Regions from separate parts of the Homo sapiens genome. Here region 2 is linked to region 1. The links are contacts of gene promoters, found by promoter capture Hi-C in blood cells and fetal thymus (Javierre and others, 2016). All regions are on one chromosome and are shown on one strand. The core of a region is centred on a gene start or on the middle of the fragment in contact, and the rest is flanking DNA. Distances in the headings are between cores, read along the strand shown.

The links. Contacts are between HindIII fragments. The CHiCAGO score rates a contact against its expected background, and 5 or more counts as called.
Region 2: a contact is called between a fragment that was not itself captured here and the fragment with the promoter of HUWE1 in region 1, in 1 of 17 cell types (fetal thymus). The highest score is 5.7, in fetal thymus.

The regions. Positions count from the first base shown.
Region 1 is chrX:53,684,645-53,687,997 of GRCh38, reverse strand. HUWE1 (HECT, UBA and WWE domain containing E3 ubiquitin protein ligase 1) reads left to right here and starts at 1,279. Exons shown (of 84, transcript NM_031407.7): 1 at 1,279-1,410; 2 at 1,630-1,728. RefSeq lists silencers at 1,098-1,272, 1,346-1,645 and an enhancer at 1,856-1,935. The HindIII fragment of the contact is 15,452 bases long and covers 1-2,992 here.
Region 2 is chrX:54,038,442-54,042,142 of GRCh38, reverse strand. The region is part of intron 2 of PHF8 (PHD finger protein 8); the gene reads left to right. Among named protein-coding and RNA genes, the nearest start is that of PHF8, 4.2 kb to the left of the region's middle. The HindIII fragment of the contact is 5,961 bases long and covers 1-3,701 here.

The sequences.
Region 1 (3,353 bases), core at 30-2,529:
AAACCAATTTTAAAATGAAAAAAGAACAACCGAAGTTAATTACATGCTAAAGAAAGTATAGCTTCATGTTGCCACTAAATGTTACAGATGGGCCGGGTCTTTCGCCTGTAATCCCAGCGCTTTGGGAGGCCGAGGCGGGTGAACTGCTTGAGCCTAAGAGTTTGAGACCAGCCTGGCAACATAGTGAGACCCCGCCTCTACAAAAAATAAAAAGTTATCCAGGCGTGGTGGCGCATACCTGGAGGCCCAGCTACTTGGGAGACTGTAGGCAGGCAGGAGGATCCTTGAGCCCAGGAGGTCGAGGCTGCAGTGAGTCGTGACCGTGCCACTGCACTTCACCCTGGGTGACAGAGTGATGCTTTGTCTCAAAAAAAAAAAATTGTAAAAATATTCAATGAAACAGTGTATCTCGAAGGGGCCCTGTACATCTCCTGAGATCATATACAAAATTTTATGTGTAAGTATATATTGGGGTGGGGGACCCATTCATTAGATTCTCAATTCGAGGGATGAACCACTGCTCTGGAGGGCTGGAATTAGAGAAGTGGAGGGTATAATCACAGTTTTTATTTCCTCGATGTCTCAGGAGTTCTTTTAATAGTGCTTTTGTCTTTAAATACTAAATTAATACATACTTTTTATTAAAAATTGAAACCTTATCGAAGTAGCTAGAGTTCCAAGTCAAAGTTCTTCGCCCCTCCAATGTCGTCCGCAGCCCACAATAATTAAGTAGGGTTAACAGGTGATCTCCCACCAGGTCCTTTTTATTCCCATGTATTTACAGATGCAGATCCTCTACAGGATCCTTGTCAATCGCACTGCCGTTCCAAATAATTAAAGGAGGAAAAAAGAATGTTTATTGAGGGCTTACTATGTGCCTGAAGTGTTTTAAGGGTTTGCTCGCGTGAACTCTGGGTGGTCGGCTTCCCACGTCGTCTCCCACCCTCCGCTCTGGGTCCAGCCTTGCCCTCTTGCCCCACACTCCCCATTCTTCACAAGGCATCTGGCGAGGTCGTTAATTTTTAAAGGTAAATCAGATCAAATCATGTTCCCTTCCGCGGCTTCCACCGTGCCTCGAATCAAATCCCAATTCTTAGCGACCCTATCATCCTCTATGGTTGCATTTACTGGGCCTTGGGTAGCTCAGGCGCGGTCCCCTGCAAGGGACCCGACTTCACCGCGGAGGGAGCTCCCTCCCGAGGGGCAGGGGCGGGGCTTCGCTTGCGGTGGGTGGAGCCCCAAATCGAGTTTGAGCTGAGCCGAAGCGAGGAGGCTTTCGACTGAGGGCTAGCGAGGGGAGCAGGGCTGGAGCAGGGCTGGAGCAGGGCTGGAGCAGGGCTGAAGCAGGGCTGAAGCAGGGCCGCGGACCCCGCACGCTCCTGCGGGCCCCGCGGAGCCATTGCGGCCGAGGTGAGCGTCTATCCCTGGGCTGGAGGGCGAGCTCTGTACGCGCGGCCGTTCTCGGTTTCTCGCGGGTGGCAGTGGCGAGGTTGGGGGGGGAGTTCCCACGGGACCCTGCGCGGAGGCGCGGAGGTGGCGGCCTTGGGGAGCCTGCGGGAAAGGCTGCTGGAGGGGCAGGGCGGCCTGCCCCAACCCTCCCTGAACCCCGCCTCCTCTCCCCTCCCCCAGGCCTCGGCAGGCGCCAGCGGAGAGCTAGCCGCATCTTCGGGGGCAGCCCGGCAGCTGCCGGCGGCGCGGCGAGAGAGCGGCTGACAGAGGGGATGCGAGGTACCGGCATTAGCCATGGCCAAGTGGCCCTAAAGAGAGAGTAGAGGCCGGGCCTTCAGCGTTTCTCACTGGTTCGAGGAAGGCGGCCTCAGAGGAGAGGGAAGGTGAGGGGCGGGCAGGCAGGCTTCGCGGGTAACTACTAGGCGTTGCATATATATGTTTTGATATCTAAATGGTACTACACACACACACACATTCATTTCGACTAACTGCTTGTTTAAAAATCTGAGAATATGTCTTGTAGATCTTCTTATATCCGGGAATCCAAATTTATGTTGGGTTTTAAACAGCTGCATTGTATGATTGTACTACAGTTTATTTAACCATTTCCCGATTGATATACATTAGCTTGTTTCTCTGTTGGGGGAGGGAGGGGACTATTACAAGCAATGCCATAATGAATGGGTTTGTGTATATGTATCATGCCATGTATGAGTATTTCTGTAGGAGAAATTCTTAGAAGAGTAACCGCTGGGTCAGGGTGTATATGCATTTTGAATTTTGATAGATTTGTCCAAATTGCCTTCCCAAAAGCCTGTACTAATTTACACTCTTTAATGTTGTGCGAGAGTGCCTATTTTTCCACAGTTATGCCAACACGTATTATCAATCTTTGTAATTTTAGCCAATTTAAAGGGCAAAAAAATCGTATGTCATTGTTTTCATTTGCATTTCCCTGATTACTGGCGAAATTGATCATATTTTTGTTTGTAAATAGGCAAATATCAATAGTTTATATAGGCAGTTTTCCTATCTATAAGCAATAAGCATTTTGAAATTTTAATAATAAAAAACCTGTTCGCAATAGCAAGAGAAACGAATAAAAATACCTAGAAGTAAACTATAAAACTTTATTGACGAATACCATAAAAGAACATCTGCATGAAAAGAGAAGGAATACTATGCTTCTGAATAAGAAGGCTCAATATTTTAGTGATGTCCATTTTTCCTATATTGGTTTATACAGTTGATGCAATTTCAATAAATATACCAAGTTTTTTTGGAACTTACTATGATTCTAAAGTTCATCCGGGGGAAAAAAATGGCTAAGAATAACTGAAAAAAAATATTTTAAAACGTAAGTAAAGATAGGGATATTTGTACTACTGGCTATTAAAATGTACTCTAAAGGAACTATTTAAATTAGAACGGACAGAACAATGCATTAGAATGGAAAAGCCCACAAATCAAGCCAGATTGGATCCCAAGATTTATTGGAGAAACACTGTTGGCTAGACGTGGAAAAACTGCCATATTAAAAGCTTCAGGCATTTCCCCCCATCCCCGAAGCTTGAATATTCCTTTGAGGGCAGACTCCTTTGTTTGGAGAAAACCACTTTATTGGATCTTTTTGGTTATGCCAAGGTAAAGCTTCAGTAGTTAAAATTGGTGGCTTTGGAACTAGAACTAATGATATGGCCTTTAGTTAGATTAAGATGGATTCAGGTTAGCCTGCAGTGCGGCGAGGGAAGGAGTCTGGATAATGTAGGTTTAAAAATTTTTTTCCCTATCTAATGGGCAAAAAATGTTATGTCATTGTTTTCATTTGCATTTGTGTGCTTACTGTGAGATTGAACGTCTTTTAAATGTTAGTCCAGGATAATATGTTATTCCTGGAGACAGGT
Region 2 (3,701 bases), core at 747-3,246, 350 kb before region 1:
TTAGTAGAGACGGTGTTTTTCCATGTTGATCAGGCTGGTCTGGAACTCCCGACCTCTGGAGATCTGCCTGCCTCGGCCTCCCAAAGTGCTGGGATTACAGGCGTGAGCCACCGTGCCCGGTCATCATTTTTATAGTCTGACAATTATGTTCTGCCTCACACACTGGCTTTTGGGAAAACAGTGTTGCTTATTTGAGGTAGTTGAGTCCATAAACAGGGATTTAAGTTGTGGCTTTGTACTTAGTTTCAGAGTGACCATGCACAAGTTGCTTTGCTTTTCTGAGCCTCATTGTCTTCAGCTATAAAATGTTATCAAATACATCCTTTCTGACTTTGCAAAGCAGTTTGGATGTACTCCATAAATGGAGGCAGAAATGGAAGAGTATTTTATTTCTACAGCATTTATCTGCAGCACCATCCAACTAAATTGAATTAAGCAGAATAGATGCTGGGTAAAACAGGAGTAAAACCACTGATGAATTTCCTTCAGTTAACCGTGTGTGCACATAAGCACCTGTCACCCAGAATTCCGGAGAGGTTAGTGTGTACGATAAAACTAATATTTCATTAATGGGATTTAAATCTCAGCTATGGAAAGACAACCTTGAGGGGGCTTTGTACACTGGAGCACAACAAAACAGTGTATGGCACCCTCCTCCTGTTGCTTGTTAGATTCTAGAATTTTCAGTTGTCTGGTCTCCTCCAGAGGGGCTATTTCTTTTTCTTTTTTTCTTTTTTCTTTTTTTTTTTTTTTTATTTGAGACAAGGTCTCACTCTTGTCACCCAGGCTGGAGTGCAATGGCATGATCTCAGCTCACTGCAACCTCTGCCTCCCGGGTTCAAGCGATTCTCGTGCCTCAGCCTCCCGAGTAGCTGGGATTACAGGTGCACGCCACCACGCCCGGCAAATTTTTTTGTACTTTTTTGATAGAGATGGAGTTTCACCATGTTGGCCAGGCTGGTCTCAAACTCCTGACCTCAAGCGATCCGCCCGCCTCAGCCTCCCACAGTGCTAGGATTACAGGCATGAGCCACTATGCCCAGCAAGCTATTTCTGTTTATCACACTCAAGACCAAACTATAGGTGCTGGTGCTGCTAAAATCCTGCCCTCAGCAGGGACTGCCCCCTTGCCCCGTATCCAAATTCATGTTTAACTGATCTCTATTGAATATTTATTGTGTGCCCGGCACAGAGTTCTGTTTTACTGCCTCATGTTATTTAAGAGGGGACAACCCTAGAGGGTGGGACCTTTTCCTTTGCCCTGAAAATAAGTGGGGATTAAGATGTCTTTCAGGATTCCTGGTGTCTTTGCTAGTGCTGATCAAGTCACTCCTCAGCTTAACATTCTTCTTTCAGTGGTTCGTCTCTGGGATAAAATTCAGTATCCTTTATATGACAGACAAGACCTTTTGTGATCTACTTGTTTATTCTCATTTCCTGCCACTCCTCCTCTCTTGTTCTTTATGTCCTAGCAAGACTGAACTACCTATAGTTCTGGGAAAATTTTATACTCCTTTATGCCTTTTTGTCTTTGTACGTGCAAACTCCCACTAATGCCCTCTCCCCTTTGCAACTCACAGACTGTAAAAGGTGTAAAAGTCCTTCTTCCTCTTGGTTCCCATTGCACTTTGTGTGCGTCTTTATTAAAAAGTAATTATTTAATCATATCATAGTTATAAATATATCTGTGTCATTCGTTAGCCAGAGCTTCCTGAGGGCAGAGATGTCTTCTTTTCATTTTTGGTATCCCCAGAACCTAGTTCAGTGCTAAACATGTAATAGATGCTGAGTACATTTTTGAATGAGTTAATGAGTCTTCATGAAAAAAAGCTGTTGCCTGGGGCCCTTACTTTGGATTGTATGGGAAATGTGTAGGTTCAGACCTGTAAAATGGGCTCCTGCTAACTCCTCACTCTGGAAACAGGGAACAGGAATGAATGCTTCCTGACTGCTTATGTCTGCCGGACCCCATGACAGGGACTTGGGACAAATTATTTAGTCTATATGCAAGCCTGAAAGTTGGATATTTCTCTTTTAAATAATGTTCTTAATTTTTTCTTGCTCTTATAGTGAGACCTGCTTGTTGTAGAAAACACAGAAAAAGAATAAAGAAGGAAATATAACTCACCTAAGTCTACTACTGTCTGGCACAATCCACTGTTAAATTTGTTGTTGCATTAACTCCCATCTTTTGACTTAGAATATAAACATATTTTTACAAGATGGGATTGCGTTATAAATACCATTTTACAACCTATTTTTTATTTCTAGTTAATGTTACAATGTAATTGCCAGTTCATTAAATATTCAGCTAAACTTGATTTCTGATATCCCACAATATATATGTGTCACCGGTTAATTTGGTAATTTCCTTTATGGTTGGACATTGTACTTTTTTGAACATTATTTGTACTTTTTTATATTATAAATAATGTGAGGAAACTTTGGGCGTTCTGGAAAGGTTTTGCATCTTGATATGAGTGCTGATTAAAACAAAAACATTATGGAAAGCATCTTTGCCTAGTAGATACTTGACATTTATTTATAAGGAGCACCATTGAGGCCTTAAAGAATTCTAAACTTACAAATACAGAAATGGGCTTATGGGCCAGGCCCCTCTTTAATCACATTTCTGTGGTGAGTTGTGTGTTTCTGTGTACACTCTAACACAAGTTAACTGCCTTAATTTTTTTCCATGAAATACACCAAATTTTAAAAATCTCTTTTGCTTCTCTCTATGGGCCCCCACTGAACAAGGAAGCTAGCTGAGAATCAGGTCCTTGGGGGTGGCTGCTCTTGCTTACTCAGTGCATTGCTCACAGAAACACACCAGGCTTATAGTGCGCCATTTAAGTTTGTACTTCAGCACAATTGGAAATTACTACATACTGTGGACTTTTTATGGTTGCTTGCAAGAGTTAAGCCAACAAATTTTAAATCCACAGATACCTAGAGGTGATAGAAATCTGTTCATATCTCTAGTGACTTCTTTTTTTTTTTTTTTTTTTTGAGACAGAGTCTCACTCTGTTGCCCAAGCTGCAGTGCAGTGGCACGATCTTGGTTCACTGCAACCTCTGCCTCCTGGGTTCAAGTGATTCTCCTGCCTCAGCCTTCTGAGTAGTTGGGATTACAGGTGCGCGCCACCACACCCGGCTCATTTTTGTATTTTAGTAGAGACAGGGTTTCACTATGTTGGTCAGGCTGGTCTCGAACTGCTGACCTCGTGATCCACCCACCTTGACCTCCCAAAGTGCTGGTATTACAGGTGTGAGCCACCATGCCCGGCCTCTAGTGACTTTTGTAGGATAGATTTCTTGAAGTCCAGCTAGGGATTATGGAATATAATGCCAAGTTACTTTTTGGAAAGGTTATAACAAGCGAGGCAACTATTCCATTTTGCAGCTGAGAATCTGGAATTCGTGGAAGTTAAGTGACTTTCTGAGTGTGGATTTGAACTTTGAATTATTTGATTCCAGAGCCCAGGTTCTCAGAAGTGCAAAAAACATGGTATTGCTTCATTCTTCCTGTAAGAAGCTGGATTTTGCAAAAACACTTTGATTTGTACAGCGGTGGTTCTCAAACTTCAGCATGTATCAGACTCACTTGGAAGACCTGATGAAACACAAGTTAGGGATGCCCTAGCTACAGTATTTCTGATTCAGTAGGTAAGAAGGGCCCACCCTTGAGAACCACTGATTTA